Linked DNA regions of Homo sapiens: regions 2 and 3 are each linked to region 1. Evidence: promoter capture Hi-C in human tissues and cell types (Jung and others, 2019). All regions are on one chromosome and are shown on one strand. The core of a region is centred on a gene start or on the middle of the fragment in contact, and the rest is flanking DNA. Distances in the headings are between cores, read along the strand shown.

What was found. The method cuts DNA at HindIII sites, captures the fragments that hold promoters and counts their contacts. A contact is called where the count stands out against the background at its distance.
Region 2: a contact is called between a fragment that was not itself captured here and the fragment with the promoter of THAP11 in region 1, in 1 of the 25 tissues and cell types used here (stomach).
Region 3: a contact is called between a fragment that was not itself captured here and the fragment with the promoter of THAP11 in region 1, in 1 of the 25 tissues and cell types used here (adrenal gland).

Annotation. Positions count from the first base shown.
Region 1 is chr16:67,840,366-67,843,920 of GRCh38, forward strand. THAP11 (THAP domain containing 11) reads left to right here and starts at 1,955. Exons shown (of 1, transcript NM_020457.3): 1 at 1,955-3,555. The coding sequence starts at 2,190. The coding sequence ends at 3,134. The region is part of intron 1 of CENPT (centromere protein T); the gene reads right to left. RefSeq lists enhancers at 1,669-1,718, 2,171-2,917, 2,629-2,788, 3,229-3,278 and a silencer at 1,969-2,148. The HindIII fragment of the contact is 20,232 bases long and covers 1-3,555 here.
Region 2 is chr16:68,942,832-68,945,968 of GRCh38, forward strand. All of the region lies in intron 14 of TANGO6 (transport and golgi organization 6 homolog), which reads left to right. Among named protein-coding and RNA genes, the nearest start is that of TANGO6, 100 kb to the left of the region's middle. The HindIII fragment of the contact is 7,830 bases long and covers 1-3,137 here.
Region 3 is chr16:69,317,863-69,321,104 of GRCh38, forward strand. VPS4A (vacuolar protein sorting 4 homolog A) reads left to right here. Exons shown (of 11, transcript NM_013245.3): 4 at 788-849; 5 at 961-1,080; 6 at 1,525-1,681; 7 at 2,279-2,427; 8 at 2,826-2,907; 9 at 3,189-3,242. Among named protein-coding and RNA genes, the nearest start is that of VPS4A, 8.1 kb to the left of the region's middle. The HindIII fragment of the contact is 4,362 bases long and covers 1-3,242 here.

The sequences.
Region 1 (3,555 bases), core at 705-3,204:
CATGCCTGTGATCTGCTATCAGGAGAGAAAAAAGGACAAGAAAAATTGGGAGGTGACCACGATCATGTCTTTTGTGGGAATATGCATGGAGCTGGGGGCCATTATCCTTAGCAAACTAATGCAGGAACAGAAAACCAAATACCACATATTCTCACAAGTGTGAGTTAAATGATGAGAACTCATGAACACAAAGAAGACAACAACAGACACTGGGGTCTAATTGCGGGGGGCGGGAGGAGGGAGAGGAACAGAAAAGATAACTATTGGGTACTGGGCTTAATACCTGGGTGATGAAATAATCTGTACAACAAATCGCGGTGACACGAGTTCACCTATGTAGTAAACCTTCACACGTACCCCCGAACCTAAAGTAAAAGTTTAAAAAAAATTGGGAGAAGGAAGAACTCGGCAAAGGAGGGCTAGTTTGCAGGTAATTCACCTGGAGAACTGCCTGGCCCCTCCCTGGCTTTCCACAACATTTTGTGTTCTTTAAAACATTTTCCCCCAGCCAGGCGCCGTGATCCTAGCTCACGCCTGTAATCCTAGCACTTTGGGAGGCCGAGGCGAGCAGATTGCCTGAGCTCACGAGTTCGAGACCAGCCTGAGAAACATGGCGAAACCCCGTCTCTACTAAATACAAAATACATATATATATATATATATATATATATATATATATATTAGCCGGGCATGGTGGCATGCGCCTGTAGTCCCAGCTACTCCGGAGGCTGAGGCAGGAGAATTGCTTGAACCCAGGAGGCGGAGGTTGCGGTGAGCCGAGATCTCACCATTGCACTCCAGTCTGGCGACACAGTGAGACTCCTTTACAAAAAAAAAAAAAAAAAAAAAAAAAAAAGATTCCCTCAAATAAGTTGAGGTGGGGGGAGGTGTATTGTTACAATGCAAATCCTTTCCCATAAAATCCTTTAATAGCTCTCAGTGGCCTGCAGAATAAAACCCCAAATCCTTAACATGTCCCAGTTTGGTATTTTCCTACGCTTGGCCCTACCCGGGCCACCCCTTTCCAGGCTCTTTAATGGCGGAGCCTAGCTCTTTTCTGCCATGTGGCCTTACAGACTGGTTCCTGGGACAAGAATTGGCTACTTCTCCCTACCCAAGCTTTCGTTCGTTTTTTTATTCCTGGCCCCCACCACCTCCCCCCCATTTCTCTGCTCTCCTGTTAATTCCTTTGGAGCGATTACTATTTGTGAGTAGACATCCATTCGCGTGCATTCAGATCTATTATCCAAAAGACAGACGCTTATCCGTCTAGGTAGTCAGGCTCCAAGAGAGGAGCCCAGTCGGTCTGACTCCCGCAAACTCCCGGCACCGTGTCAGCCACATAGTAGGCGTCTACTGGAGACTTTGTTTAGATCAGTTAGTCAACGCAGGCAGCAGCTGAATCAGGAGAGAGTCCCCAACGCAAAGAAAGGGGCTCCTGAGACCCTTCGGGGCGCCGAGGCCCAGGTTTCGTCTCCCTCTGCTGCAGCAATGCCGTCGACTCAAAGGGGCTCGGGGCTGGGGAACTGGTTCTGGCAAACAGCACAACCTCGCCCGAATCCTGGTCCGCAGTAACTCGATCTTTCCCTTAGGCGGCGCTTCGGAGGGAAGGCGCCTAGTTCAGCGCGAGGCATCACGGGATTTGTAGTCTCCGTGGGCATATACCCACCGCGCTTGCGCACCGGTGAGGCGCGCACCGCCCCGCTCCACGCCCCTATCAGGATTCGGGTCCTCGTGAGGAGCAGTCCAGGCGACAGCGTTCCAACCTAATACGCCTCTCTCGCCCGCCGGGGACAAGACGGGCTGGGGAAAGAATCTGCTCTTCGGAGGCTATCGCAGTGCCTTGGAAGGCGGCAGGAATCCGCACACACCCGCCCCGGAAGTGAGCCGCTTCTGGCGCGGGGCATTGTGGGGGGCGTAGTCTCTTTCTCAGGCGGTCCTTCGCGGCGTCCCCGGGGCCCACTCCCGAGCGCAGGCGGGCAGCCAGGCGGGCGGCGCGGCGCGGGCCGGCAGGAAGCGTATTCTGGGCACGGGGCGCCGGGCGGGCCGGCTGCGCCGAGCGGCAGTGGTGGGATACCACCCAAGGCCTCGCGCGGCGCCGCCCGTCGAGGGGCGGGCGGCGGCGTAGCCACTGGGCCGTCGAAGAGCGCAGGAGGCCGGTGGGCCGGGCCGGGCCGCGCGGCGCAGCCATGCCTGGCTTTACGTGCTGCGTGCCAGGCTGCTACAACAACTCGCACCGGGACAAGGCGCTGCACTTCTACACGTTTCCAAAGGACGCTGAGTTGCGGCGCCTCTGGCTCAAGAACGTGTCGCGTGCCGGCGTCAGTGGGTGCTTCTCCACCTTCCAGCCCACCACAGGCCACCGTCTCTGCAGCGTTCACTTCCAGGGCGGCCGCAAGACCTACACGGTACGCGTCCCCACCATCTTCCCGCTGCGCGGCGTCAATGAGCGCAAAGTAGCGCGCAGACCCGCTGGGGCCGCGGCCGCCCGCCGCAGGCAGCAGCAGCAACAGCAGCAGCAGCAGCAACAGCAGCAACAGCAGCAGCAGCAGCAACAGCAGCAGCAGCAGCAGCAGCAGCAGCAGTCCTCACCCTCTGCCTCCACTGCCCAGACTGCCCAGCTGCAGCCGAACCTGGTATCTGCTTCCGCGGCCGTGCTTCTCACCCTTCAGGCCACTGTAGACAGCAGTCAGGCTCCGGGATCCGTACAGCCGGCGCCCATCACTCCCACTGGAGAAGACGTGAAGCCCATCGATCTCACAGTGCAAGTGGAGTTTGCAGCCGCAGAGGGCGCAGCCGCTGCGGCCGCCGCGTCGGAGTTACAGGCTGCTACCGCAGGGCTGGAGGCTGCCGAGTGCCCTATGGGCCCCCAGTTGGTGGTGGTAGGGGAAGAGGGCTTCCCTGATACTGGCTCCGACCATTCGTACTCCTTGTCGTCAGGCACCACGGAGGAGGAGCTCCTGCGCAAGCTGAATGAGCAGCGGGACATCCTGGCTCTGATGGAAGTGAAGATGAAAGAGATGAAAGGCAGCATTCGCCACCTGCGTCTCACTGAGGCCAAGCTGCGCGAAGAACTGCGTGAGAAGGATCGGCTGCTTGCCATGGCTGTCATCCGCAAGAAGCACGGAATGTGAACTGGTGCCCCGGCAGCCTGCTGGACTCCCAGACCCCATCCAGCCAGGGGACCGCAGGCCATTGTTGAACTCCTCTATACTCCTGGGCACTGGTTGACAGTACTGAGGCTTAAGGCAGCTGGACTCTCTTGCTGGTGACCTGGCATCCTCAATTGTTTCCTCCTGAAGTGGAAGCTGGGGCCTTAGACTCTGCCCTGGTGACACCAGCAATTATGACTTTGTCTACCCTTCCTCCCCAGTTATTGTTGCAGATTCTGGTTAAGCAGAGGCTTCAGAACCACTGAACTTGAAACTTACCCTCTAGGGATGCAGGTGGGATGTCCAGGGACTATAGGTTTGGGAAAACCATACCTTAAGGTTGGTCAGCAGTCAGACAACTCTAATGTGTGTAGTGATAAGAGATTCAAGTAACATCAGTTCT
Region 2 (3,137 bases), core at 588-3,087, 1.1 Mb after region 1:
CAAGATACTGCAAAAGTCAAGCCTCTGAAATATGAATCTGAGAAATTTTATTTCATTTATTTAATTTTTAATTTTTTTTTTTTTTTTTGAGACAGGGTCTGACTGTCACCCAGGCTGAAGTGCAGTGGCACAATGTCAGCTCACTGGAACCTCCACCTCCTGGAGTTCAAGCAGTCCTCCCACCTTAGACTCCCGAGTAGCTGGGACTACGGGCATATGCCACCACACCCAGCTAATTTTTGTGTTTTTTGTAGAGACAGGATTGTGCCATGTTGCCCAGACTGGTTTCAAACTCCTGGGCTCAAGCAATCAGCCTGCCTCAGTCTCCCAAAGGGCTGGGATTACAGGTGTGAGCCACTATGCCTGGCCTTATTTATATTTATATTCTTATTTTTATTTTTTATTTCTCTTTTTTTCTTTTTTTTCTTTATTTTATTTTATTATTTTTATTTTTTGAGACAGGGTCTTACCTTGTCACCCAGGCTGGAATGCAGTGGCATGATTAAAGCTCACTGCAACCTGAATCTGAGAATTTTTTTTTTTTTTTTTTGAGACAGAGTCTCGCTCTGTCACCCAGGCTGGAGTGCAGTGGCGCAGTCTTGGCTCCCTGCAAGCTCCGCCTCCTGGGTTCACACCATTCTCCTGCCTCAGCCTCCCGAGTAGCTGGGACTACAGGTGCCTGCCACCACGCACTGGCTAATTTTTTGTGTTTTTTAGTAGAGATGGGGTTTCACCATGTCAGCCAGGATGGTCTCAATCTCCTTACCTCGTGATCTGCCCTCCTTGGCCTCCCAAAGTGCTGGGATTACAGGCGTGAGCCACCGCACCCGGCCAAGATATTTTTTTTTTAACAGTGTCTGTAAAGTATTGTCTTGGTCTCAATTTTTTGCCCTTTAAGATAAGAATCTCCTCATTCCTTTTAGTATGGAAAGGGGGTCTTTTATATGAGAATTTTATTTTTTGCTTTTAAGAAACAGCACGAAGGTCAAAATAATATTTTTTAAAATATCTGCTAGTTTTTACGTGTTTTTTACTTAAATTGTCAGCATGCCAGCCTAGCTGAGGAGTTTTGGAAAAAGAGAGTTAGCTTAGAGCAAGAGAGTAAGAAGGAATTCTAAGAAGGGGAGGGGCAAGCTCCAAAGAGGAGAGTCTCAACCAACTTTGAGATAGTATTTTATAGCTAGTCAGTCTTTGAGTCCGGGTTGGGTTTGGTTTTTTTAGCCTAAAGATATCCCTTGAGATATGAGTCTTATTTGGAATGTATGATTTTATTGCCATGGTCTTTTAGTTTAGTTTTAAGAACAACAGACTGCATGATCCCTGTAATGTTTGAACATGTTACCAGCTGGAATCTCAAAATATATCTTGGCATGTCTTTGAACTTTGAGAGCCCATTTGTAATTAAACTTATCTAGGTGACTCAGTTTAATGTTGAATATACAAAAGCCAATTAAATGCAAGTGTTGAATATGCAAAAGCCAAATAAACACAAGTGCTGATGGAAAATAAAGTATGTACTTACCAAGAGGACGATCAGCTGCCTTTCCCAACTGAAGGGAAAAGGAAAAATTCTTTCACCCAGGCCTCAACCTGGAGGAAAAATATCTCTTCACTCAGACCTCACAGCTGAGGTCTGCCAGGAGGAAAAGAGTCCTCCCCAACAGATGATCTCCCAACCAGAGAGAGACCCCCCTCCAAATAAGAGGAGGAAAGACCCTTCTCTAAGCAAATCCCAAACAAAACAGAACTTTACCCAAAGCAGGAGTGCCATCCAGGAGACTCACCAGGGAACACCTAGCTGACTCGTGGGAGAGAGGGTGCTCAAAGGCCCTCAATGTGAGTACCTTATGTCATAGTTCCAAGGGCCGATGATTTTTCCCAAGGTGAGTCAGGTTTGGAATCCCACTTCTGACACCACATATGTCAAAATCAAATAAAATATAAGGACAAATCTCTAAATTTAAAACATTTTGCAGAAGCAAGAATTGCAATTCAGGGCATACACAGACAGGGTGGTCTTCCATATGTCTGAAGAACAAAGATAAGTTTAGAGGTTTGGCCGGGCACGGTGGCTCACGCCTGAGGCAGGCAGATCACTTGAGGTCAGGAGTTCGAGACCAGCCTGGCCAACATGGTGAAAACCCATGTCTACTAAAAATACAAAAATTAGCCAGGTGTGGTTGTGCACACCTGTAATCCCAGCTACTCTGGAGGCAGGAGAATCACTTGAACCCAGGAGGTAGAGGTTGCAGTGAGCTGAGATCAGGCCACTGCACTCCAGCCTGGGTGACAGGGCGAGACTCTGTCTCAAAAACAAAAAAGAAGAAGAAGAGGAAGAAGTTTGGAGATTTTATAAAAAGGAGAAATGTTACATACTGTTCCAGAAAGAAAGTTCATTGGCACTGTAAAGTTCTGAGCAGCTGACAAGCTCTGAGGAGTGACAGTGGTGGGTAAAACTAGTCTTAGAGTTGCAGCAAGTTTGTTTCAGTAGCTAAGATAAAACTGGTTTTAGGTTACTTTTTTAAATTTCTTTTTTATTTTATTTTTTTTTAATTTCTTGGTTTTAGGTCACAATAGGGAGTTTCAGCAGCTGGGCTTGTAGGGAATTATACTTTTGGGGCAATATTATGTGCACTGCGTGCTTTGTTTCCCTGGCCTCTCAACTCTTAGGTGGGTATGACAAAAATGACCAAATTTGTTTGATCAGCTTTCACATAGCCACCCTAATGGGTGTGAAGGGGTATCTCATTGTGATTTGATTTGCACTTCACTCATGACTAGTGATGTTGAAGATCTTTTTATGAGTTCATTGCCCATTTGTAAATCTTCATTAGAGAAGTGTCTATTCAGATTCTTTGCCTTTTTTTTTTTTGAGATGGAGTCTCACTCTGCTGCCCAGGCTGGAGTGCAGTGGCATGATCTTGGCTCACTGCAACCTCCACCTCCCAGGTTCAAGTGATTCTCCTGCCCCAGCCTCCTGAGTAGCTGCGATTACAGATGCCTATCACCACACCCAGTTAATTTTTGTATTTTTAGTAGAGACAGGGTTTAGCCATGTTGGCCAGGCTGGTCTCGAACTCCTGACCTCAGATGATCCCCCGCCTTGGCCTCCCAAAATGCTAGGATTATAGGCGTGA
Region 3 (3,242 bases), core at 743-3,242, 1.5 Mb after region 1:
AATTCAGAGAATTACTTGAACCCGGGAGGCGGAGATTGCAGTGAGCTGAGATGGAGATTGTGCCATCGCACTCCAACCTGGGCACCATCTCAAAAAAAAAAAAAAAAAAAAAAGAAGCTTCTGGCAGCTGCATTGTTTGACTGGCTTTTTTTTTTTTTTTTCCCCCAGACAGGGCTTCACTGTCTCCCAGGCTGGAGTGCAGTGGTGCGATCTTGGTTAACTGCAACCTCTGCCTCCCAAGTAGCTGGCACCATAGGTGCGTGCCACCATGCTTGGCTAATTTTGTGTTTTTTGTAGAGACAAGATCTCGCTGTTTCCCAGGCTGGTCTCAAACTCCTGGGCTCAAGCGATCCTCCCGCCTCAGCCTCCCAGAGTGCTGGGATTACAGGGGTGAGCCACCGCACCCAGCCTGGGCTGTGAGAGCCACTGCAGGTGGCCTCCCAGAGTATGAGGTGTGAGTCACCGCACCTGGCCTGGGCTGCTCTTTAAGTCCAGCTGAAGCACATTTCCCTTACGGCCTTCAGGAGAGGGCCGACCCGGATTCCCATCTGCTCCGCGAAGAAACAGGGCGGGTTATAGGAGTGTTTGCTGGGGGGGTCCTGAAGTGAGCTGCTGAGAGCATTGGCCCAAATGTCCCTGAAGTACTTGCTTGAGTCACACGGCACTGTTAAGCCAGGAAGGCTTCGTTCCTTAACCAGTGTGCAGGCAGCGGAGCCTGGACTTGCTGGGAGCACCTCTGTGCTCCAGGCTGAAGGGCCAGCTTGTGACTTTCCGTCTCCCTTCCCAGCAGTGACAGTGACAGTGAAGGGGATAATCCGGAGAAAAAGAAACTGCAAGAACAGCTGATGGGTAAGTGGCTCGCGGCCCTGTGGCAGCGGCAGGGGATGAGAGTGGGTCCGCTGCTGGGTTGGCTCATGCCCCTTGGCCGGGCCCGGGCCCGGGCCGGCCTCCCTCTCGCAGGTGCCGTCGTGATGGAGAAGCCCAACATACGGTGGAACGACGTGGCCGGGCTGGAGGGGGCCAAGGAGGCCCTCAAAGAAGCTGTCATTTTGCCAATCAAATTCCCACACTTGTTCACAGGTGAGAGTTGAGCCATTTCAAACCCCAATGTAAAAATTCCAGGCTTCCGCAGGGCTGGCACTCCGAGGCACCCGGGAGTCAGTGGCGACTCAGCCCCCGGGGCCTGCAGAGGGCCAGGCCTGGCTGCTCGCTGGTGTCCACAACACTGCTGTGGCTGGAGCTATGAGATGACGATCACGTCACAGGGTGGGGGCAGGATCAGGAAGCAGTGCCAGCCGGTGTCACTGTGCAAGGTCATGGGGTCATAGCAGGGGCACTGTGCAAGGTCATGGGGTCATAGCACAGGGCACAGCAGGGAATGTAGCTCCCATCACTTGTTTGCCAGTAGAGTCCGTTGTTTCACAGAATGCCCTGTTTTACTGTATGTATGGGACTCGAGACCCTCTGCTTTTCCTATTCCTTTCCCCAGTCAGGAGGCCTAACTTCTGTGGTTCTCTGTTGCAGGCAAGCGCACCCCCTGGCGGGGGATTCTGCTGTTCGGACCCCCTGGCACAGGGAAATCCTACCTGGCCAAAGCCGTGGCAACAGAGGCCAACAACTCCACCTTCTTCTCTGTGTCCTCCTCAGATCTGATGTCCAAGTGGCTGGGGGAGAGTGAAAAGTAAGTCGGCCACCAGGCCATGCTCTGCCAGCAGCCCCGGCACTGCTAGTGACCCAGCGGCCCACCCTGTGGAGTCACCTCTCAGAGGAGTGGTTTGGTTTTCAGGGAGGGTACCCAAGAGCAGTGTGTCGCTAGCTTATCGGCTGGGACACAGTCCCAACAAAGACAAGTGAAGGTGGAAGGGACCTGGGAGAGGTGAAGTGCTCCACAAGAGAAGGGAAAGGAAGTGAGGATATTTTTGGGGTCTGGGTTGCGGTCCCTGTTGGGGCAGTGTGTGGGGGACATGGTTCCCCACACTGACTCCTGTTTTGCGTGTGATGAGACGGGCTCGGAAGAAGGGGACTGACGTGTTGTAAGTGCAGAGCTAGCGCATGGGGCTCCTGGGATTGAGGCTCTGCGTTTGGGGCTGACACCAAGGTGTGCTCCTCCTCTTGGTGCAGTGTGGCCCGAGGGCTCCTCACCACCACGTTTTCCGCAATTCCGGCATGACCGTGGCCTGCGCCTCCCTGTGGGAAGGGTGAGAAGAGGGAAGTGCCGGGAGCCCAGGCGGGCACGGACGTGAACGTCTTGTCCTCACCCCCTTTCTCACCTTCACAGGCTGGTCAAGAACCTGTTTGAGCTGGCCAGGCAGCACAAGCCCTCCATCATCTTCATCGATGAGGTGGATTCCCTCTGCGGGTCCCGAAATGAAAATGAGAGTGAGGCCGCCCGGAGGATCAAAACGGAGTTCTTGGTCCAGATGCAGGGTGTGTGCCGGGCCCAGGGCCCCCTTGGTTCTTGTTGCACCTGAAGCCAACCCTGGGCTTTATTCTGAGCTGCGGCTGGATTTGGTTGTTCTCAGCCTCGGAGAGGCACTCCCCAGCTCCAGCCCCTCAGGGCACGGGTGGACTTCAATTCCCAAGAGGTGCCTGAGGCCTCTGCCTCACGGGCCACTCCACCCCTCCCATGGCAGGCAGTGCCATAGGTCTCACCTGGCACAGCCAGACCAAGATGTGGTTTAATCTCACTTGGGACCCTGCCAGTGGTGGGTGGCACAGGGATGGCTTCAATTGCTGACACACAAAGCCCCCGGGGTCTGTCCCCAGGTTTCAACTGACCCGTGCAGGTGTCCAGAGTCTGAGTCTTTGTCTCCCTTTCTCCACAGGGGTGGGGAATAACAATGATGGGACTCTGGTTCTTGGAGCCACAAACATCCCATGGGTGTTGGATTCGGCCATCAGGAGGAGGTGAGTCTTCCCCAGGAGAAGCCAGGGCTGGAGGCTTCCTCCCACCATGGTCACGGTCCGCCTGCTGCTGGCAGCCCGGGTGCAGCCTGGCCCCTTTTCCCTGGAGTCTTCCCGTCTGCCTGCCAAGCAGAGCCCTTTGTGAGGCTGGCTTGTTGAGGATGTGCCGCCAGCATCACTGGCCCATGAAATGCGTCCGTTTCACTCAAATCTTCGTGCCTCCCCTTCCGTGAATACCATTCCATCATCCGCTGTCAACTCCTGCCGTGTGCTGGGCTCTCTAGGTTTGAAAAACGAATTTATATCCCCTTGCCGGAGGAAGCTGCCCGCGCCCAGAT